Regions from separate parts of the Homo sapiens genome. Here all the other regions are linked to region 3. Evidence: promoter capture Hi-C in 16 types of primary human blood cells and fetal thymus (Javierre and others, 2016). All regions are on one chromosome and are shown on one strand. The core of a region is centred on a gene start or on the middle of the fragment in contact, and the rest is flanking DNA. Distances in the headings are between cores, read along the strand shown. Region 1 holds the start of TRIM38 (tripartite motif containing 38). Region 2 overlaps LINC02980 (long intergenic non-protein coding RNA 2980). Region 3 holds the start of H4C12 (H4 clustered histone 12). Region 4 holds the start of H1-1 (H1.1 linker histone, cluster member). Region 5 holds the start of H2BC3 (H2B clustered histone 3). Region 6 has its middle 4.7 kb from the start of H1-2. Region 7 overlaps TRIM38 (tripartite motif containing 38).

Region 1 (3,180 bases), core at 1-2,500, 1.9 Mb after region 3:
TGTTCCCTTGGCTCCTACACCATCATGACAATAAAATTTGACTCCACCTCGACCCCCCCCATCCCCCACAAAGAACAACAACCAACACTGGTTAATAAGGTCGGTTGTTTTTTGTTTGTGTTTTTGTTGTTGTTGTTTTTGCTTTCAGGAGCAGAGGTATAATAGGCAAAAGAAAGAGAAAGGAGAATAGTGAATACCTCTTCTGCAGAGAGGGGTGCCTAAGTGGGACTTCCCTGGCTAATAACGTCTTGCTAGAGACCCAACCAGGAGGATAATGGAAGCAATCAAGGCAACCAGAACAACCAGAAGAACCGGTTTATCCTTTTTGTGCCCTCTCCCTAAACTGAGGGAATAAGAATTGGAAAGAAGGCTGCAGAGCAGAGGGTTTGCTCCTGAGGAGCAGTTATTTCTATGGGATCAGAGCTCCTGCAGAACTGGGGAGTTTACTTTTACTATCTCTTCTCCAGGACAGGACCTATCTCAAGAGACATGTTCAGAGTGATTGCAACATAAAGAGTTTGCAGACCCAAGGAGGTAGGGAAGGCAGAAAGAAGATGGGGGAGGCCAGGGATAGGCAACAGAGGAGTGACCAGGAGCGAAAAAGCCTGCCTCTTCTGAGAACCTAGCTGGGCTCTCCCTGTACCCCCGATCCCTCCCCCCCGCCCGCCCCCACACCCCTACTCCTGGGAGCTCCTCTAGGACAGGGGCAGAGTCAGGAGGAAGTTTGAAGAGTGCCTAGAATAAAAAACAGTAATTTAACTACAATTACCGGGTAGGCTGTTTTCCTCTCACAATTTGATCAGTCTCTTGAAGCCACACAGAATTTCTTCTGAAGACGTGTATTCCTTGGCAGGCTATTTCCTCCAGTGATACACCAGGCCCCTCTCTGCTGGGGTCACTGCTCTTCTGGGGAGATGGGGCTCCCCTCCTTCCAAGGCTCCAGGGTTCCTGTCCTGGGCCCCACTCATCTAAGTTCTGAATCTTCTGAGATTTGGTGTAAAGTCTGGTGAAAGAAAGAGCAGGAAAGAGGTGAGAGCTGTAAAACAAAGAAAGTCCTGACCATTTTCAGAGTTGGAGGGGCCCTGCTGTCACGAAATATATTCCCCACCCCACTTGCCATCAGTACACACTCACATATCCACTGAGAAAACCTTAGCCTGGACCTTTTCCGTAACCTTCACTGCTCAGACACTTACATATTCGCTGCTAGTCCCCTCTGTTGCTGCCACTTCCTGGGTCAGGAAGTTAACTCAGACCGGATTAAACTGAGAAGTGAAACTACTGTGGGAGGCGGGGCTCATAAGATTTAGGAGAAAACTAGTGACGTTGTTCATATCATTTGCACTCCGCCTCTCCGGTAAAGGAGGGGGAAACGTAGGAAGAAAATATCCTTCTTTTACAGCAATAAAAAGAAGGAACCAATTAATAACCCTGTAAACTATCATGTGACCCCAACACAGAGTATCTAAAAACAGGAAGCCTGCAGAGGTTCAGTTCACAGACTCTGATTTGAGATCTTTCTACTTTTGCCACCAACTCCCTTGGGAGTCCTTAAGCCTTCCTAGCTGATGTTACTTCTTTTGCTATTTATGGGTTGCTTGTGGTTCTATAACTGCTCTGAAGGGTGTGGTGGAAAAAGGGGTGGTAACAGCAGTAGGACTCATTGGCATCACAAAATTCATCTGAGTCAGCTTTCTATTCTTCTCTGTCCCGTTCTGTGTCTTGTTTTTCTCCTTGCTGTCCTTCTGCAGGACTCAGATCTTCTTCAATAGCGAGGGTCAGCCAGGATAGAAAATGGGAGTCACTAGTGGCCCAGCAGTGAGTGCCCCCAGCTTAGAGCTGTGTGGGATCCCTGGGACCATCACTCTGCTTTGTGCTTTGTGGAGAAAAGGCTGTGGGGTCCAGGGTCAAGTCCTTAATGACTTAGCTCCAGCTTCTCCACTTCAAAATGAAAGGAAAAGTACTATCACCACCCGTTAGAATTATTATTTCATGGGGAAAAAAGATGGATTACTATCTCACAATAAGAGCTTGTCACATTTATAAGTCTCAGGTGTAAGAGGCATTTATGATAACAACATAATAAATGCTGGCTTAAGTAGATGCAGTGGTCCAAGGGAACCAGTAAGGGGAGCTCAGGACACAGGTGGGAGGAGAAATTAAACTTGAATTCTGGGAGCCACTGGCCTGTCTGGGCCCCTGGCCTGCCTGCTGACCCTGATAGCCAATGGAACATGGAGTTTGGCCCAGCTGCAATCCCTCTGGTCCAACTACTCAAAATAAAGGCAAGATTGGGAAACACGTTCCTTTCTTCCTATACCAAGCAGAAGACTCTTCAGCACTGCACCCTCCTGGGTGCTCACAGAGCCTTCTGTTGTTTTGCCACCTACGATTCATCATGCCCTGGCATGATGGTTGCAGACCCCATGCATAGCATGGGACATTCTACTCCTGAGGCAACCAGCACACAGAGAGAGGAGAAAGAATGAGCCCCTGAATCCTTGGTCCCACGATGAGTCCTTGCAGATATCTACAACTTTCATTGTTGTGGATGTGACTCTGTACCCAGGCATGGCTCATTCCAGATCTGTCCTATTGTCAGAGGTGTTCAAACCAGAATGACTCCATTTTGAATGGGGGCTAGGTAAAATAAGGCTGAGACCTACTGGGCTGCATTCCCAGGAAGTTAGGCATTGTAAGTCACAGGATGAAATAGGCAGTTGGCACAAGACACAGGTCATAAAGATCTTGCTGATAAAACAGGTTGCAGTAAAGAAGCTGACCAAAACCCACCAAAATCAAGATGGCAACAAGAGTGGCCTCTAGTCATTCTCATTGCTCATTATACACGAATTATAATGTGTTAGCAAGTTAGAAGGCATTCCCACCAGCTCCATAGTGGTTTATAAATACCATGGCGATGTCAGGAAGCTACCCTATATAGTCTAAAAAGGGGAGGAACGCTTGGTTCTGGGAATTGCCCACATCTTTCCCAGAAAACATATGAATAATCCACTCCTTGTTTAGTACATAATCAAGAAATAACTGTAAGTATCTGTATTAGTCCATTTTCACACTGCTGATCCAGACATACCTGAGACTGAGTAATTTATACCAGGAAAAAATGTTTCATGCTCTTACAGTCCCACGTGTCTGGGGAGACCTCACAACCACAGCAGA
Region 2 (3,303 bases), core at 648-3,147, 1.8 Mb after region 3:
TAAACTTCAGAACAAAATTATGAAGAGCTATATTTACTTTTCTACATTCTAATTTTTATAAATCTGAGTATATTTTGCATATATTGTTATAGTACATATTCAATTTTGTATTTTGCTGTTTTCACTTAACCATTTTTACTAGATTACTCTGTGTTCATAATAATCACTTTTTTAAAACTTTTATTTTTATTTATTTATTTTTTTTTTGAGTCAGAGTCACACTCTGTCGCCCAGGCTGGAGTGCAGTGGCGTGATCTTGGCTTACTGCAACTTCCACCTCCTGGATTCAAGCAGTTCTCCTGCCTTAGCCTCCTGAGCAGCTGGGATTACAGGTGTGCACCACCAAGCCCGGCTAATTTTTGTATTTTTAGTAAAGACGGGGTTTCACCATGTTGGTCAGGCTGGTCTCCAACTCCTGACCTCATGATCTGCCCACCTTGGCCTCCCAAAGTGCTGGGATAATCACTTTTTATGCTGCATAATTCTTCAGATTTGTCAGTACGACTGTATTTACACTCATTTGTTTTATTAGAAAGAATTCCAGAATATTTTGGCTGCCCTAATTAATTTTACAATTAATATGATTTTGAAATTGGGTATTGGCTCCTTCTGAATTGGTTTATTAAAATATATTCTAATGTAATTTATGACATTTTCATCATATTAGCATATTTATTCTGTTAGAATTTCATAATTTATAAAGCTACAAACTGTATGTGATATAGCTTGTAACTTTATCTCATAACTTTATGCAGTTACAAGTAGAAATAAAATGTTCCCCTCAAGATTGCTTAAAATTTTATTATAAACAAGTGTAAAAAACAAAATCACTAAAACACTCCCTCTTTTTTCCCCCAAAATGCATGTTTCCATTTTAACAGAACCCGTATTTAATCAGCAGATTTCTATGGTGGCTAGATTTGTAGACTAAATATTAAAAGTCCCAAAGCAAATGCATTTTTCTCTTAAATTTTACTGACTTTTTTTTTTTTTCTTTTTCTGAGACGGAGTCTTGCTCTGTCGCCCAGGCTGGAATGCAGTGGCACAATCTCGGCTCACTGCAACCTCCGCCTCCCGGATTCACGCCATTCTCCTGCCTCAACCTCCCGAGTAGCTGGGACCACAGGCGCCCGCCACCACGCCCAGCTAATTTTTTGTATTTTTAGTAGAGACAGGGTTTCACCGTGTTAGCCGGGATGGTCTCGATCTCCTGACCTCATGATCTGCCCACCTCAGCCTCCCAAAGTGCTAGGATCACAGGCATGAGCCACCGCGCCCCGCCTACTGACTTTTATCCAAAGAAAATATAAGAGCTCTTCATCATAACGTATGTTTCTTGCTCTTGTTATTAAATATGACACATTTAGACTTAAACTGATTTGAAGGTTTATGACATTGTTTAAGTTATTACATAATTAATTCATAAAGATAATGACTAGTTTGAACTACTGACAGCTCACACATCATCAGTTGAACAGCAGAAAGCTTACTAAGCTACTTTCTTATGTTTCTGTCTCCCAGCTACTAAAAGAAACGAAACCCTTCCAGGTGTTAAGGCAAAACTTTCCTCCCCCTTTCTTCTATAAATCTGATTCCATGTTAGTGAAATTTCTACTGATGGCTTTGGTTTCCTCTATAGTAGAATAGAGATCCTATGGCAAAAGTCATGTCTGACATGGTAGCAAATAGAAATGGGGAAAAGGAAGGTCTGCAAGAGCCAATGTGGGAAATGGGGAGAGGACTGACTACAAAAACCCAGCAGGAATTCCAGAAGAAAACTCCTCAGGACGGGCACATTGGCTCATGCCTGTAATCCCAGTACTTTGGGAGGCCGAGGTGGGCAGATCACTTGAGTCCAGGAGTTTGAGACCAGCCTGGTCAACATGGCGAAACCTCATCTCTACAAAAAATAAAAAAATTTGTCAGGCGTGGTGGCATGCACCTGTAGTCCCAGCTACTCAAGAGACTTAAGTGGGAGAATCACTCGAGCCTTGGAGGTGGAGGTTGGTGAGCCGAGATCACGCCACTGCATTCCAGCCTGGGCGACAAAGTGAGACGCCATCTCAATCAATCAGTCTCCTCGAAAAGCAACATTATGGAGAGACAGGATTCCGTCAAGGCCTGGGGCACACAGGAAAATATTAAGGCAGAAGAGAGTTTCCTCCCCACACCACACCGTATCCCACAGGCACTGCGGATGTGCATATGCAAGAGGGGTTGATCCTAAGAATTTAGAGTCACAGAGGAGGAGGCACCAAGCAGACTGTGGAGAAAGTCATGACCAGAAAGGGACAGAATGTAAAGCTTCAGCTGATTATCTGGCCTCAGGGATTCCAGAGGAACTGGTCCCAATGGTCTCCTGGTGATGTAGGTTCTTAGGTTTCTTTTACAGGGGTTTTCTGGGAGATCGTTGACCCAGTTAGCATTCAAGCAACTTCCACCCTGCACTTTTATTCTTTCCCCTTCACCTGCTTAGGTTTTATCTGTCCAGGAAATAATAATAAAATTATTGAGCCCTGGACATGTACCTGTAAAGCTCCTTAAAGATGATGCCTTCTAACTCCTCATTCAACAGATACAAAAACATTACAATAAAATGACTCATGCAAGACACCCAGGTAGTTTATAGCAGCTAATAAAAACAGAATAACTATAAAATATGGTAAGTTTATAAAAGTTACATTGAGTATACTTTATAAGAACTGCTTATTGAGTTTGCCTAATAACCACACAGCACAATAATAATATGTATATATTTTTAAATATGTGTAAATATGTGTAACACAAACTTGTAGAAGGTATATCTGAGTACAACCCTATTCTGTTTGGTTACCTTTTCTAGTTCATTATGTAAGTGGCATAGCTACCTAAGGACTTATGCTTATAAATGTTACTCAAAAAAATACAGAGGACATATGTGGATAGATAATGGAAGAGATAAGATAGGTAGGTTGAAGGGTTGGGCTGCCCCTCCACACCTGTGGTTGTTTCTCGTTAGGTGGAATGAGAGACTTGGAAAAGAAAGAGACACAGAGACAAAGTATAGAGAAAGAAAAAAAGGGGTCCAGGGGACCGGTGTTCAGCATACGGAGGATCCCACCGGCCTCTGAGTTCCCTTAGTATTTATTGATCATTATTGGGTGTTTCTCGGAGAGGGGGATGTGGCAGGGTCAAAGGATAATAGTGGAGAGAAGGTCAGCAGGTAAACACGTGAACAAAGGTCTCTGCATCATAAACAAGGTAAAGAATTAAGTGCTGTGCTTTAGATATGCATACACATAAACATCTCAATGACTTGAAGAG
Region 3 (3,077 bases), core at 167-2,666:
GAACCCGGGAGGTGGAGGTTGCAGTGAGCCAAGATTGGGCCATTGCACTCCAGCCTGAGCGAAAGGGCGAGACTCCGTCTCCACAAAAAAAAAAAAAAAAAAAAAAATTCAGAGTATAACCCTGTATTTATTAATAAGAAAGAAAATCAAATATACGGAATCAAAGTTGCTCCATAATGGTTGATAACAAATCTTTAGTTGGGTCATATAAAAGTGTCTTTTTAAAAACCTACAAGCGTCCAAGCGAAGCGGCTCACGCCTGTAATCCCAGCACTTTGGGAGGCTGAGGCGGGCGGATCACGATGTCAAGAGATCAAGAGCATCCTGTCCAACATGGTGAAACTTGTTCTTTACTAAAAATACAAAAAATTAGCTGGGCGTGGTGGCGCATGCCTGTAGTCCGCGCTAATCCGGAGGTTGAGGCATGAGAATCGCTTGAACCCGGGAGGTGGAGGTTGCAGTGAGCCGAGATTGCACCACTGCCCTCCGGCCTGACGACAGAGCGAGACTCCTTCCAAAAAAAAAAAAAAACCCCACACACAAAACCTACAAACACCAATTTTCTAGTTATAAGAGCTTGTTTTAAGGATTTTAATTCTATTCCAATTAAGTCCTAAAGCTAATGCAATTATCAAAATCTCGAAGAGATTTTATTCAAACTTCACAAAAGGTCTCTAAAGTTGTCCAGAAACCTTGGTGAAACAGATTAGGAAATTTGGAAAGGAAATAATGCGGAGACCCGTAGTACCAAATCATGAGACCTCTAATACAATTTTAAATATTAATGTAATAAAATTTAAATTTTGGTGTAATAAAATCATAAATTTCAATATTGGTCCCAAGTATAGAGAAAAAGTACATTTATGTTGAATGTGGAAAACATTATTTTTAAAATACAGCCGATTAAAAAATTGCTGGGGAACTGATTATAACTATTGATAATTCCTAAGAAACATAGACACCAAAACATCACTTTTATCTCTTTAATAGAAATTGGTTAAATTATAATCAATATAAGGAGGTTACAAAACTCCATATACAACACTGTATACATTTTCTTGGAAAAATATGTGCAACTGCTCTGCAAAATACATGATTAACTAGCCTGTGTGATGGGATAACATTGTAGTTTCTTAATTTCTTGTCCTTTCTTGTATTTCCCACAGTATTGATGTATATCTTCTGCGTTCAAAAGCAATTTTTTAAAGCCTCATAACGTGGTAACAAAATACTATGCACGTTACAAAATTCAGAACACGGAAACAAGAAGCTCGCTTTTTTTTTCCCCCTATTTCGGTTTGGCCCTTTAGATTTCCCCTCCCCCACCGGGGCGGGACTTCCCGCCGACTTCTTTCAGGTTCTCAGTTCGGTCCGCCAACTGTCGTATAAAGGCGCTGCCTCAGGCCAGAGTCCTCACAAAGCGTTGGGTGAGACTCCTCTTGCTCGTCATGTCTGGCCGCGGCAAAGGCGGGAAGGGTCTTGGCAAAGGCGGCGCTAAGCGCCACCGTAAAGTACTGCGCGACAATATCCAGGGCATCACCAAGCCGGCCATCCGGCGCCTTGCTCGCCGCGGCGGCGTGAAGCGCATCTCCGGCCTCATCTACGAGGAGACTCGCGGGGTGCTGAAGGTGTTCCTGGAGAACGTGATCCGGGACGCCGTGACCTATACAGAGCACGCCAAGCGCAAGACGGTCACCGCCATGGATGTGGTCTACGCGCTCAAGCGCCAGGGCCGCACCCTCTACGGTTTCGGTGGTTGAGCGTCCCTTTCTATCAACAAAAGGCCCTTTTTAGGGCCCCCACTTTCTCAGCTGAGGAGCCGTGATGCTTGTTTGCCCAGTTTCTCTTTACCATTTGTTCGCGCCTGCTGAGTTTGTGCTGCTATCGGAGCATGCGTCTCTAGTCGCTGTAAGTAGGCATCAGTCACTAATCGCTCTCCAGTAAATAAAATACCCAACACAACTTGTTTCAGGTGCTCCAGAGCTTACTGACATGGGCCGTCGCGCAGACTGTAGTGCAGTGTCATCATGGCTCACTGTAGCCTCCCGATTAGCCGGAACCTCGCGCCCACCACCACGCAAGGCTAATTATTTTTCCAAAGACCGGGTCTCCGTGTGTTTCCCAGGCTAGTTTCGATATCCTGGCCTCAATCCCCTCGCCTATGCCTAATGTTGGTATTACAGTAGTGAGCCACCACGCCTGGCCACGATACTGTTGAGGTTTTAGGGTTAGTTACATTTAAGGGGCAATTTTCGCAGTGTAGTGGGGAGGAAAGTCAAGCAGTTATAGGTTTCTGGCGCTGTGAATCCAACTGCTGAACATAGCAAGAACTTATTATGCAACAACCTTTAATCAGTGGACCGTAAATAAGTTTAGTTTATCGGTTTTGGCCCAATTCTTGAGAAAGGTGAGAATTTGAATCCTTGAGTAGAAATACGTAGCTTATCAGTACAACAAAGTGATCACAACAAAGACTAACTTATCCTTTGTTACTTAACGTGGGCAGAGCTTTACCGCTGAGAATTCCTCAGCCTTTGAGTGTTCTCTTATTTACAACTGAAGTTGATAAGATGGTATTAAAAGTGAGATTCCTAGTAAGTAAACTTAAAGGCCTGAAGGACCAGTGATTAATGGGAAGTGCTAATAAGTCATATTTGAGGTTATCCAACCCGAGATTCTGATTTAATTGGTTTAAGGATACTATCACCTTGTGGGTTAGATTTGAAAAATAATAATTGCTTTAAGGAAGGAACCTGTTGGTATTTAAACAAAAAACTTTCCTTCCTGATTCTTACATGCCGTCACTTAGACAAATCTCTGGTCTACATGGCTGGATCTCTTTCTGCTAGTTAAATTCTGTGCTACCCTGTGAAAAAGAACTGAGATTAATAAAACGGTAGTGAGAACACAGGGAAAGATAAAAATCATAGCAAGCCCATCCAGTCATGCTGTAGTCATCCTCACAAGGATAGGGAAGGATCTTGTCCTTCATTTATCACCCAAAGTGTGAGTACAAACTTTAAAAACATATGATACTATAGGAATAATGAAGATGTCTCCATTTGCAAAAATTGTGT
Region 4 (3,102 bases), core at 345-2,844, 1.8 Mb after region 3:
AGAAAAAAGGGAGGCAGAACCCATTATTTAAAGTGGAAACTCCTGAATCAGATAATTAGGAGTATTTCCTTTTCAAAAGTTGCGTTTTTTCAGATACCTCGCTTATTACACTAAGAAAGGTTTATATCTTTCACAAAGGGTTTACTTACAAAAATCTTCCAATTTTGTATACCTGTGTTTCATAACTGACTAGCCGTCAAACCAAGATGTAGAGTTTCCAACCGTTATTTTCCAAATTTTTAGAAATTACGTGAAATATTTGAATGCATGCCTTCTCAATAAAATGGGACGTAGGAAGCACTGGTGCAGAAGATGGGTACAATACTTATCTGGGACCACTCCATTATTTGGTTGGCACGTTGTTTGAACAAAAAGGGGAAAAGCTCAGGTTACTTAGCATGGTTCGGACTTATTTGAAAACTACCACAGCAGGAGCGGAAATAAGACCGCATTACCTCACTCTCTGCTGTGCTGTGCTAGGGGGTTATCCAGAATAGGATTGTAGAAGTGGATGTCGATTTAATAGTTTTTTATTCTCCCATTAGCTGAGTCTCTGATTGGCAATGTGAGATCGTTTTAGCTTATTGATACTTTGAAATGCACTTAACAGCCACAAACAAGTTAAAGGGTTGTTACCATAAAATCTTATCCCCAGGGTGTGCTTGCATTTATCACCCGTGTTTGCTTTCACACTAAGTGGACTTAACTCCCCAGCAGAATGCCTGTCAGGGAACCGGTTTCGTGGACCCAGCATTTAACGCCTTTCGCAGGCTTGTGAGGCCCATAAATATTTGTTGAATAAAAGAATGAGTTGACCATGTCATGGTGCGCTGATTGCGTGTGCTGACATGGAACACAGGTTGTAAACCTTAATACCAATTTGGGGCATGTTGTATGGATGAAAAGGGCATTGGAAATTCCTGAAGTGCATCCCACATTGGACTGTGGAAATAAGTTGCAAGTGCAGAAACGTTTCCACACTTGCAGTTTGAGTATTAATTGCAGCGTTTGTGAATTCTGGTGTTGTCTACGATTCATTCTTGTTTGACGTGAAAGGTATTCGCGAGACACATCGCTCTAAAACATTGCCAGAAAATGTAATAGAGTTGATGACAACTGGCCCTAACACGGCCTAAAACTCGCACTTTTCTCTCCCTCCGCAACTATTCAAAACACTGTATTTTACATTTCTTGCAAATTAAAAACTAACATCTCTGGCAACGGACCTCTAAAAATTTCTAATAAAACTCCTCGGATGCTTGTGGCACTGCATTTGTAAACCGCCCCCTCTCAACCTACTCCCTAAAAAAGAGCTGCTTTTTGAGAGAGAAGCGGTACCCTCTGATGTTACTGGGCGGCAGTCTGCCTACAATTTCCTTCACAATGAGGCAACCAGAGCGGCTTTTTCTGTGTGTTTGCTTGCGTTGAGGGGAGCAGGACCATAGGCCCTAGAGGCCCCCAGCTGCCTTCTGAGACTGGGCGAAACCCTCGGCAGCGCGCAGGGGGCGCTAGGGCGCGAGGGGCGGGCACTGACGGGCACCAATCACGGCGCAGTCCCACCCTATAAATAGGCTGCGTTGGGGCCTTTTTTTCGCATCCTGCTTCGTCAGGTTTATACCACTTTATTTGGTGTGCTGTGTTAGTCACCATGTCTGAAACAGTGCCTCCCGCCCCCGCCGCTTCTGCTGCTCCTGAGAAACCTTTAGCTGGCAAGAAGGCAAAGAAACCTGCTAAGGCTGCAGCAGCCTCCAAGAAAAAACCCGCTGGCCCTTCCGTGTCAGAGCTGATCGTGCAGGCTGCTTCCTCCTCTAAGGAGCGTGGTGGTGTGTCGTTGGCAGCTCTTAAAAAGGCGCTGGCGGCCGCAGGCTACGACGTGGAGAAGAACAACAGCCGCATTAAGCTGGGCATTAAGAGCCTGGTAAGCAAGGGAACGTTGGTGCAGACAAAGGGTACCGGAGCCTCGGGTTCCTTCAAGCTCAACAAGAAGGCGTCCTCCGTGGAAACCAAGCCCGGCGCCTCAAAGGTGGCTACAAAAACTAAGGCAACGGGTGCATCTAAAAAGCTCAAAAAGGCCACGGGGGCTAGCAAAAAGAGCGTCAAGACTCCGAAAAAGGCTAAAAAGCCTGCGGCAACAAGGAAATCCTCCAAGAATCCAAAAAAACCCAAAACTGTAAAGCCCAAGAAAGTAGCTAAAAGCCCTGCTAAAGCTAAGGCTGTAAAACCCAAGGCGGCCAAGGCTAGGGTGACGAAGCCAAAGACTGCCAAACCCAAGAAAGCGGCACCCAAGAAAAAGTAAATTCAGTTAGAAGTTTCTTCTAGTAACCCAACGGCTCTTTTAAGAGCCACCTACGCATTTCAGGAAAAGAGCTGTAGTACACAGATGAAATCCCCCAAGCAAATGCAACACGCCCTCAATTATATTAGAATCACTTGGAGAGTCGATAGAACTTTAACATAGCCTCATCTAGTAAGAATTTACTACTCAATCTATCAAAGATAGCAAGGTGAATTCAAATGCACCGAGTTAAAATCGAGTTTTAAAGTCACCTGGGTTTCGGTAGCCGGAAGTCCCGCGTCTCACGACTCCAAGCTAATTAGTCATAACCGTATTGAACCAAGGTTGAAGCCCAGTCCCAGGCTTGAGGCTTTTTATTATACAAGGTTAAAGTGGGGATATTGCGTTTTGGGGTCAATATTGCTAAAGTAGCATTTTCCGAAATTGGGTGGTCCTAAGAAATGCTTCTGGGATAGTTGGCAAAATATATGGCTTAACCACGCCCTCTCCACAGGAGTGGCTAGCGAGCTGTCTGTCCTTGGGAAGGACGGTGACCCTGCTGGCGTGGCTGGCGCCCACGTTGGCGTCCTCTGAAAGCCCCGCCAGGTAGGCCTAGCTCGCTTGCTTTCTGCAGCGCCATCATGACAAAGCTTTGAAACGCAAAATGCTTTCTTTGTGCAGCGCCTTACCATGGGTGCACTTACGGGCTGTCGACTTGGTTTAGGCCCTTGTCAGGACAAAGGAGCTTAGTTTGTTGGAGTTTTAGAGCTGCAACCCAAAATCCCTTGCTCGGTTTCTCTGTTTTTAGAAACGGAAGCGCCCTGATT
Region 5 (3,087 bases), core at 226-2,725, 1.8 Mb after region 3:
AATTGTCTAAAATTCTAGTTCATCCAGTCCCAAAGAACAGAGTGTATAACAAGGTATCTAAGGATTTTTAAAATGTAAATTCCGATTCAGTAAGTTTGAGTGGGACTTGAAATTCTGCATTCCTGACAGTCTCGCAAGTTATCAATGCTGGTGAACACTCACTAAACCACCAGAAACGTTCAGACTCATGTCGGGAAATAACGCTTATATTCAGAGAATGAGATTCCATGCTATTTTGTTACTGGCGAACAGCAAGTTTCCTTGCCCTTTGTTTTCTAAGTCCAAGTCACATTCCCACCCTGCCTGTTCTCAAAATGTCTTATTTTGGTTGGCCTTAAGTTTCACTTTGTATACTCTAAAATGTACTTTCTAAAGGAAGGTGTTATTTTCTCGAAACTTAACTTTTTAACACCATTAGGCTAGGGGGGCGGTGGCTCACGCCTGTAATCCCAGCATTTTGGGAGGGCGAGATGGGACGATCACTAGAGGCCAGGAGTTCAAGACAACCCTGGCTAAAATGGTGAAACCCCGTCTCGCATAAAAATACAAAAACTAGCTGGGCGCGGTAGCAGACGCCTGTAATCCCAAGTACACAGGAGGCTGAGGCATGAGAACCGCGTGAAGCGGCGGGGTGGAGGTTGCAGTAAGCCGATATCGCGCCGCTGCACTCCAGCCTGGGTGACAGAACTAGACTGTCTCAAAACAAACCAATCCAAACGAAAAGCAAAAAATACCCTAACAGAAGCAAGTTATCATCCTTTCTTGTGTAACTATGGACGGCTCTGAAAAATGCCGTTTCAAGTGTAAGCTACGTTTTCTGATTTGAGTGTTTACTTGACCTTGGCCTTATCGTGGCTCTGTTATTTTGGCAACAGGACGGCCTGAATATTGGACAGGACGCCTCCCTGAGCAATAGTGACGTTGCCCAGCTGCTTGTTGACCTCCTCGTCGTTTCGGATGGCCAGCTGCAGGTGGCGGGGGATGATGCTGCGGGTCTTGTCACGTATGGCGCTGCCCACCAGTTCTAAGATCTCGGCGGCCAGGTATTGTAAGTACACTGGCGCACCGGCTCCGACCGGCTCAAAATAATTGCCCTTTCGAAAAAGATGACGGACTCTGCCCTATTGGGAACTGCAAGCCCGGTAGCGACGAACAAGTTTTTGCTTTAGCTCCATTTTCCACGTCCGCAAATAGCGACCTATGAAAGCAGCGGAAAACTGTGAAAGACAAGCAAGCTGGAATGGCGCCTGAACAAATCCTTTTATACAAACTGCAAGGCTGCAATAGGAAGCTATCCTATTGGTCAATTATGTTTGGTGCTTTATCCAATAGAAAAAGATAACATAAATTCCATATTTGCATAAACCCCACCCCTCAGTGAAACCGTGTTTCTTTTGTCCAATCAGAAGTGAGGAATCTTAAACCGTCATTTGAATCTCAGGACTATAAATACATGGGCTCTGAACTGTTCTCTGTACTACTCTGTAGTGGAGAGTGTTAGTAGCTTTTCTATTCTGTTTAGGAATAGCAATGCCTGAACCCTCTAAGTCTGCTCCAGCCCCTAAAAAGGGTTCTAAGAAGGCTATCACTAAGGCGCAGAAGAAGGATGGTAAGAAGCGTAAGCGCAGCCGCAAGGAGAGCTATTCTATCTATGTGTACAAGGTTCTGAAGCAGGTCCACCCCGACACCGGCATCTCATCCAAGGCCATGGGGATCATGAATTCCTTCGTCAACGACATCTTCGAGCGCATCGCGGGCGAGGCTTCTCGCCTGGCTCACTACAATAAGCGCTCGACCATCACCTCCAGGGAGATTCAGACGGCTGTGCGCCTGCTGCTGCCTGGGGAGCTGGCTAAGCATGCTGTGTCCGAGGGCACTAAGGCAGTTACCAAGTACACTAGCTCTAAATAAGTGCTTATGTAAGCACTTCCAAACCCAAAGGCTCTTTTCAGAGCCACCTACTTTGTCACAAGGAGAGCTATAACCACAATTTCTTAAGGTGGTGCTGCTGCTATTCTGTTTCAGTTCTAGAGGATCAACTGGAATGTTAGCGAAGACAAGTTTTAGAGCCAAGGTTAACTTGGACGGGGCCGTGCGCGGTGCCTCTTGCCTTTAATCCCGGCAATTTGGGAGGCCGAGGCGGGCGGATCACGAGGTCAGGAGATGGAGACCATCCTGCTTAACACGATGAAACCCCGTCTCTACTAAAAATACAAAATAATTAGCTGGGCGTGATGGTGGGCGCCTGTAGTCCCAGCTACTCGGGAGGCTGAGGCAGGAGAATGGCGTGAACGCGGGAGGCGGAGCTTGCAGTGAGCCGAGATCGCGCCATGGCACTCCAGCCTGGGTGACAGAGCGAGACTCCGTCTCAAAAAAAAAAAAAAAAAAAAATTAAAAAAATATGAAGTTTTGAAGCAGAAATTATTTTGTCGTATGTTCTTTCATAAATTTTTTGCCTGCCTGCCTTCTTCCTTTGTTACAGAACTCCAACACTTACCCAAAGGTAGCTGTTGGGTCAGGGTTTCTGTACTATAGTCCCTTCTGTGGTGGCCAGAAATATGTTACAGGAAAGAGGTCCCCATCCAGACCCCAAGAGAGGGTTCTTGGATCCCGCGCAAGAAAGAGTTCAGGGTGAGTCCGCAGTGCAAAGTAAATGCAAGTTTACTAAGAAAGTAAAGTGGTGAAACGACAACTACTCCATAGACGGAGCAGGACATTCCCGAAAGTAAGAGGAGGAAGGCATCCACCCTAGGTACAATACTTGTATATATGGGGAGATGTGCTCTGCTACAAGTTTGTGATAAAGGATTAATTTTCTTAGTTACTATATTTTGCAAGAATCAACATTATTATCTTTAAACAAAATTAAGAATGCCTTTGTTCTCCAGATATAGGGATATCTGGACACTCCTAAGTCTGAGTCTGTTTAGTAAACATTATTTATTTGTTCCCTTAACCGTAAACATCTAGAAGCTAGGAATGACTGACTTTCTGGGAATGCAGCCCAGAAAGTCTCAGCCTCATTTTCCTAGCCCTCACTCAAAATGGAGTTACTCTGGTTCAAGTAACTCTGACACTTTTCTTCTC
Region 6 (3,208 bases), core at 445-2,944, 1.8 Mb after region 3:
GTATATATGATAAATATATGGCTACATATGAACTATATAATCACATATATGCATTATAAATAAATATTAATTTTATAATATTTTAAAGGTTATCAAATAAATATTAATATAAATAATTAAATAATTAATACTCAGCTTTGTTTTCCAAAGTGATAAATGCCTATATTTAGCAAAATATTTTTTGGAGGCCTGATAGTTTTTAGGAGTGTAAAGAAGTCCTGATATCTAAATGTTTAAGAACCACTATTTTAGGCTGTTGTCTTCTGTCTTATTTTCCCAGCTAGACTGGTAAATACTTGAAGGCAAACGTTTAGCCAGCACATTAACATTTTATGTTTTTATTCTTTTGTGCTCTCAGTGGCTGTGTCTTTTCTATCGATTTCTCACACTGTATGATGGTTATATTTGTCTGTATCTGTCCCACCAGGTATAAGTTCTTGAGAGGACACACTGCTAGGCTGATCTTAGTTTTTATTATTTCTCCTGGTGTCCTGTGCTTAACAAGTGCTCATTAAGTGTGTAAAAACACAGCACAGTAAAAAACTAGACATTAAAAAATAATGTCAACCAATCTATTGAAATTTGCATTTCCATGTTTCTTCCAATATAGTCATTGTGTCAGGTTATGTACTTATTCTGATGAAGACTATTGCCTAATATACGTTTGCATCTTGTGCTTTATAACTGCCTTCATATAGACACAGATTGAGAAGGTGTAAAAATGTGCATATCCTCACAATTGACAAATTCTTATCCTTTGAGGGTAGGTTTGACTTTCTGAAATGCTTTGACATCATTTGAAAGAAGCTTGAAGAATAAGATAGCTGTTAATGACCCAGTTTCCTATGTCACTTATACAATTATAATGGCAATTTCAAAATGTTAGGTAAATATATTTTGCAATATATTGTTCCTTTTGTAATACTCTCTATGTATTTATTTATATTTTTAAATTTTATATTTATGTATTTATTTTTCTGGACAGAGTCTTGCTCTGTTGCCCAGGTTAGAGTGAAGTGTTGTGATCATAGCTCTCTGCAACTTCAAACTGCTTGGCAAAAGTGATCCTCCTGCCTCAGCCTCATGAGTAGAGTAGCGGGAACTACAGGCGCATGCCACTGCACCCAGCTAATCACTATTTATTATGCTCCTACTGTGTGCTTTAGTATATTTTCTGTTGTTTTCTGCAACCCATTTTGAGGGCGTGTTAGGGAATACAGATGCAGTAACTTTCGTCTCAGCCCTTGAGGTGAGGAAATATTTAGCCTCAGGTTTAATCTAATTGTTGGCCATTTGCCTTCAAAGATTGAAATATGAGCAAAACTGTGGCTCTGGGTTATATGTTAAAAAAAAGTTTATGGGGCTGAAGCCAGGCAACAGACAAGAGCCCCTACAATCTTATTTAGGCTGAAAATATCCTGGAGTCCCTGTATTGTTGGTCTCAAGCAGATAGCAACACTAACACTTACTCTTTGAGGCAGGCACTGCCAGTGGGGTGGCTGTTATTATTAGCTTCATTAATTGGTGAGTCAGGAAAAAACAGCTTTAAATCATTCAAAGTTCTGGCCTATACAGGATTTAGTAATATTAGGTTAGCTACATCCAAAAGATGACAGAACCCTACTCTAAGGCTGGGCTTGGTGGTTCACACCTATAATCTCAAAACTTTGGGAGGCTGAGGCAGGAGGATCACTTGGTGCCAAGAGTTTGAGACCAGCCTGAGCAACATAGTGAGACCCCTGTCTCTATCAAAAACAAAGAACTCTAATTGGCATAGTAGAAGGAAAAAGTGAAAGAAAAACCAGCTGTCACCCTCATTCCTTACACCTGTCCTAACAACTCCTCTCACTATCCTTTGAATATATCTTGGCTGTTTGAGTCTCTCTCTAGCCCCATTACTGCTGTTTGGACTTGACATTTTGCTCTGCATTTTTAACTTTTCTACCAGGGTTTCCAGACCCTGAAGAGTGTGGCATGAAACAAAACTAGTCAACCTATAATATTTATGATGTGTGTGTAAATAAAAGAATACACAATATATTGCATTACAATATTTTAACTGTGTCCTCAATTTGTTTGTGGCTTTCTTGAGGACATCAGTTTTGGGTGGGACGACCACATCCTTAATCTGAACTTTCCCTTGGAGGTCATTCTTTTTTTTTTGAAATAGAGTCTCGCTCTGTCACCCAGGCTGGAGTGCAGTGGCGCAATCTCAGCTCACTGCAACGTCCGCCTCCTGGGTTCAAGTGATTCTCCTGCCTCAGCCTTCCAAGTAGCTGGGATTACAGATGCACGCCACCATGCCGAGCTAATTTTTGTATTTTTAGAAGAGACGGAATTTCACCATGTTGGTCAGGCTGGTCTTAAACTCCTGACCTCATGATCTGCCCACCTCAGCCTCCTAAAGTGCTGGGATTACAGGCGTGAGCCACCCCGCCCGGCCAGAGGTCATTCTAATAGACTTTTTTTTTGTTGTTGCTCACAGGCTTGTTCAATCTTATTTCAAAATTTGAGAAATACAGTTTCCATGGAACACCAACCAGATATCAGGTTGCTATGGAGTTGATAGTCAAAAGCTTTGTATCTTCCAGTTTTTCAGAATGGCTTCTAAAGGTTCTGATTCAGAGCTCTTAGGCGAAATTGAACAACCAAGTGTCAAAGTACAACATTCAGGAAGTTAAAAACATGACTGACATATATGTACTATATATAGTGAGCTTGTGTATGTGTCAATGAATGATTTAATTCATTAATGAAGGAGGAAGCAGAATCACAATTAGGTCAAAGGAAGATACGGGAGAATAAAATATGTATTTGGTCAGGGAAAGGATGTATACTGGAAGAGGAAGGGAAAATCAGATATAAAGTTGTTTAATGACTTATTAGGCAATACAATAATAACTTTTAGGGTCATTTTTTCTATATTAAGAATTCATTTCCATCTCTATGACAAAATCCTTATTAATTTATTAAACTTCTACAAGTGAATGTTTACTTTTAGATAGTCTGGACCCAATAAAATGTAAACATTAAGTCAGAGTTACTTTCACGTAGGACAGTGTTGTCCAATAAGGTACCACTAGCTACACGTGATCATTGACCATTTGGACTATAGCTAGACTGATTTAAAATGTTCTAAAAGTGTAAAATACACACCAGGTTCTGAAGATTTATCATTTAAAAAAGAATGTCAACTGTCTTTTTTTTT
Region 7 (3,101 bases), core at 469-2,968, 1.8 Mb after region 3:
GGTACATGAATTGCTTTTCCTTAAAAAAAAAATCAGCCATAAAATCATCTTCTTTTTTCTTTTGTTCCCCACATTATTTAGTTGGAGCTCTGTAACTTTTTTTTTTTTTTTTTTTGAGACAAGGTCTTGCTCTGTCACTTAGGCTGGAATTCAGTGGCATGACCATGGCTCACTGCAGCCTTGCCCTCCTAGGCTCAAGCAATCCTCGTCTCAGCCTCCTGAGTAGCTGAAACTAAGGCACATGCCACCATGCCCAGCTAATTTCTTTTCTTTTAGAGATGGGAGCCTTGCCCAGGCTAGTCTCAAACTCCTAGCCTCAAGTGATCCTCCCATCTCAGCCTCCCAAAGTGACAGGATTACAGGTGTGAGCCACCATGCCTGGCTGCTCTGTAAGTGTCTGAATTTCATTTTGTATTTATCAGTCTGTTTAGATTTTCTTTCCCTTCTTGGGTCAGTTAGGCCATTGGTTTCTTTTTAAAGGTTTTCAAATTTATTTGCATCTAATTCTTCAAATTACTCTCAAAATTATTCCAGTATATATTCTTTTGTTCCTATTTTCTTCTGTATTCTTTATTAAAATAGCTAATGATTTATCTAGCAGGACTTATATTCTTTCCATAACTTTCCTGCACCCCAATTAATCTCCAATTTTATATTTCTTCTGGCCTTCCTTATAGTTTCCACAGGTTTATTTTATTCATTTTTTAAAACTTTTATTTAATTGTTTATTTTATTATCATTCTTTCTTATTCAGCAATCTAAGTGCTTAGGGATATAGAATTTCCTCTAAGCAGCATATGCTAGGCTTTAACAATGTTAGGGAGGCCTCCCCTTTCTGGGGAAGACCACACTTACATTAACACAGGACTGTGGGATGCCAAGAGGTAGAGAAGAGCTTATGAATATCCAGATTACATCTTCACTGATCCTGCACAAAGGTGGGGTTCCTCGGTTACCCACTGGGTCCTATTACCCAAGTCTGGGTCAGCATACCGAGACTACGGGTATATAGAACAAGTGCAACTGGCGATAATCCTTCTGTTGGGGAGAAAAATCTTTTTTTTCTATTCATCTTAGGTTCTCCATCTGTGGCCCTATCAAGTAGACTAACAAAAGACAGATTGACAAGACAGAAACAAAGCATGTGCATTGTACAAACACAGGGGAGTACTGAGATGAATACTCAAAAGAGGATTTAGAACTTGGGCTTATATAGCATTTTAAGAAAAGAATACATTTTTTAAGTGACAAGGAAGACGAAAAGGACTTTGAGTTTCTAGTGCAGTAAATTGTGGGAAGGCAACTTTTTCTTTCCCTTTTTTTTTTTTTTTTTTTAAAAAAAAAGACTTCTCTGGTGCTATGTCCAGGCTGATAAGAGTCTAAAGTCTCTGGTGACTAACTTTTGTTCTTCCCCGAGTAAGAAGACACCTTCACAATTTCATATCCTGCTTTTAGGCAAATAGGGAGAGGGCAGAGGTGTTTGTTTGTTTTTAATCTATTTTTTTTCTCAATTGTCTTCAACTCAAAATACTTCTTATGCCAAAGATGGCATATTCTGCTACCCTTCACTTACTACTTACAACCCAGCCTCTATCATCATAATTAGAACTTCTGACCCTGGGGAACATGGGCAATAGTTTGAACTCTTTTATATCTCCCTTAGGCAGAGATGGAGGCCCAGCCATGCCTCTGACATCTAGACACAACTGTTGCTTCATTTCTCCTATTCTCAGAGGTGATGTTGTAGGACTTCAACAAATATCAGTAAACATTAATTTTTTTTTTCCTTGAGGCACAGCATGATCTTGGCTTACTGCAGCTGCTGCAGGCTCAAGCAATTCTCCTGCCTTGGCCTCACGAGTAGCTGGGTTACAGGCCCCTACCACCATGCCCGGCTAATTTTTGTATTTTTAGTAGAGACAGGGTTTCACCATGTTGGCCAGGCTGGTGTTGAACTCCTGACCTCAAGTGATCCACCTGCCTCAGCCTCACATAGTTCTGGGATTACAGGCGTGAGCCACCATGCCTGGCCATCAATTTTTATGTCAACTCTAAATTATAACATTTAGCAATTTTGTGACTTTTTATGGTCATCATTAATGTTGTTTATGTTTTAGTTGTAGTCCTGTCATTACTCACTCGGGTATGGTAATTTGGTCTTTTTCAAAATGAAGTTAAGGTCTATTTGCTCTTCTCTGAATCATAATAAGAACTGCCAACAGCCATTTCAGCAATAACTATTTACTGAGATTTTAAAATATTTCAAGGTAATTGGTCCTAGCAGACTGGAAAATACCAAATTCTTTTCCAGAACTGAATCCCCCATCAAAGTTCAATTTTACTCATAATTCCCTTTTCATTTGAAGCATCTCATTGTAAGCCAGTCTTAACCCTTCTCTCACACTTTGCTTGGCTGTTTCTCAGGTAGAACTCAGTAAGTCTGGTAGCCTCCAGGACTGCCGCTTAGATTATTAAACAACATGTCAGTGGTTGGAAGAGTCAATGTTATTTTGATTTTTCTGTTTTGTTTTGTTTTAAATGCAGTTGGCGGATAATTGCAGCTTTCTTTCATTCCCTACATGAGTTCAAATGGCAGCAAACAAACTAGGAGAACGCAGACCTTCTGACTTGTGGGTACCCCTACTCATCACCTGAAGACCCTTGGAAATCAAAGCCCTGACCCATTAAAGACGGATGGAGACAGCAACATACGATCATCACTATTATCTTGCTTTGCCCCAGTCCAGGTTAACCATCTGTGGTATTTTTAGTTGCTAAGTCCATATATTCAACATAAATCAATTATATATCCACTAAAATCTCAGCACTAGTCTAACTACTAAGGAAATGACAGCGAAGAAAACAGACCAAACGTCTGCCCTTATGGGATTTATATTATTTTCTCTGTGCTGGTTAAACCAAGGAGCTTCTGCTCTTTTCCTTAGTCACCTGGGGGAGGCAGAAACAAAGGAGAATATTGATAAACCTGGAAATAGGGCCGGAGAGTATCAGAGAAGGAAGCCTTCGGGAAAGTAAAGATGTGGCAGCCAGTATTCCCGTTATAAAAGGATACAACTCCGGCCTCATAGTCCAGAAAAATT

What was found. The method cuts DNA at HindIII sites, captures the fragments that hold promoters and counts their contacts. A CHiCAGO score of 5 or more calls a contact.
Region 1: the fragment with the promoter of TRIM38 here is called in contact with the fragment with the promoter of H4C12 in region 3 in 8 of 17 cell types (neutrophils, activated CD4 T cells, monocytes and 5 more); the score reaches 15.9 in neutrophils.
Region 2: a contact is called between a fragment that was not itself captured here and the fragment with the promoter of H4C12 in region 3, in 1 of 17 cell types (neutrophils). The highest score is 5.6, in neutrophils.
Region 4: the fragment with the promoter of H1-1 here is called in contact with the fragment with the promoter of H4C12 in region 3 in 17 of 17 cell types (activated CD4 T cells, total CD4 T cells, M0 macrophages and 14 more); the score reaches 41.2 in activated CD4 T cells.
Region 5: a contact is called between the fragment with the promoter of H2BC3 here and the fragment with the promoter of H4C12 in region 3, in 17 of 17 cell types (monocytes, activated CD4 T cells, total B cells and 14 more). The highest score is 57.2, in monocytes.
Region 6: a fragment that was not itself captured here is called in contact with the fragment with the promoter of H4C12 in region 3 in 7 of 17 cell types (M0 macrophages, fetal thymus, neutrophils and 4 more); the score reaches 9.1 in M0 macrophages.
Region 7: a contact is called between a fragment that was not itself captured here and the fragment with the promoter of H4C12 in region 3, in 1 of 17 cell types (monocytes). The highest score is 5.2, in monocytes.

The regions. Positions count from the first base shown.
Region 1 is chr6:25,960,872-25,964,051 of GRCh38, reverse strand. It overlaps TRIM38 (tripartite motif containing 38), which reads right to left and starts at 1,250. Exons shown (of 8, transcript NM_006355.5): 1 at 1,197-1,250; 2 at 770-1,003. The HindIII fragment of the contact is 6,907 bases long and covers 1-3,180 here.
Region 2 is chr6:25,999,847-26,003,149 of GRCh38, reverse strand. It overlaps LINC02980 (long intergenic non-protein coding RNA 2980), which reads right to left. Exons shown (of 3, transcript NR_186645.1): 3 at 1,375-1,900. Among named protein-coding and RNA genes, the nearest start is that of LINC02980, 8.8 kb to the right of the region's middle. RefSeq lists an enhancer at 2,997-3,303. The HindIII fragment of the contact is 819 bases long and covers 1,488-2,306 here.
Region 3 is chr6:27,829,899-27,832,975 of GRCh38, reverse strand. H4C12 (H4 clustered histone 12) reads left to right here and starts at 1,416. Exons shown (of 1, transcript NM_003541.3): 1 at 1,416-1,802. The coding sequence starts at 1,449. The coding sequence ends at 1,760. RefSeq lists enhancers at 1,107-1,932, 1,856-1,965. The HindIII fragment of the contact is 8,845 bases long and covers 1-3,077 here.
Region 4 is chr6:26,016,279-26,019,380 of GRCh38, reverse strand. H1-1 (H1.1 linker histone, cluster member) reads left to right here and starts at 1,594. Exons shown (of 1, transcript NM_005325.4): 1 at 1,594-2,349. The coding sequence starts at 1,649. The coding sequence ends at 2,296. It also overlaps the pseudogene H3P26. RefSeq lists an enhancer at 2,402-3,102. The HindIII fragment of the contact is 5,921 bases long and covers 1-2,927 here.
Region 5 is chr6:26,042,101-26,045,187 of GRCh38, reverse strand. It overlaps H2BC3 (H2B clustered histone 3), which reads left to right and starts at 1,475. Exons shown (of 1, transcript NM_021062.3): 1 at 1,475-1,961. The coding sequence starts at 1,531. The coding sequence ends at 1,911. It also overlaps the pseudogene H2AC5P. RefSeq lists an enhancer at 992-1,231. The HindIII fragment of the contact is 16,277 bases long and covers 1-3,087 here.
Region 6 is chr6:26,059,567-26,062,774 of GRCh38, reverse strand. No RefSeq gene overlaps it. Among named protein-coding and RNA genes, the nearest start is that of H1-2, 4.7 kb to the right of the region's middle. The HindIII fragment of the contact is 1,769 bases long and covers 810-2,578 here.
Region 7 is chr6:25,983,528-25,986,628 of GRCh38, reverse strand. It overlaps TRIM38 (tripartite motif containing 38), which reads right to left. Exons shown (of 8, transcript NM_006355.5): 8 at 1-3,101. The coding sequence ends at 2,942. Among named protein-coding and RNA genes, the nearest start is that of LINC02980, 7.6 kb to the left of the region's middle. The HindIII fragment of the contact is 4,548 bases long and covers 1-3,101 here.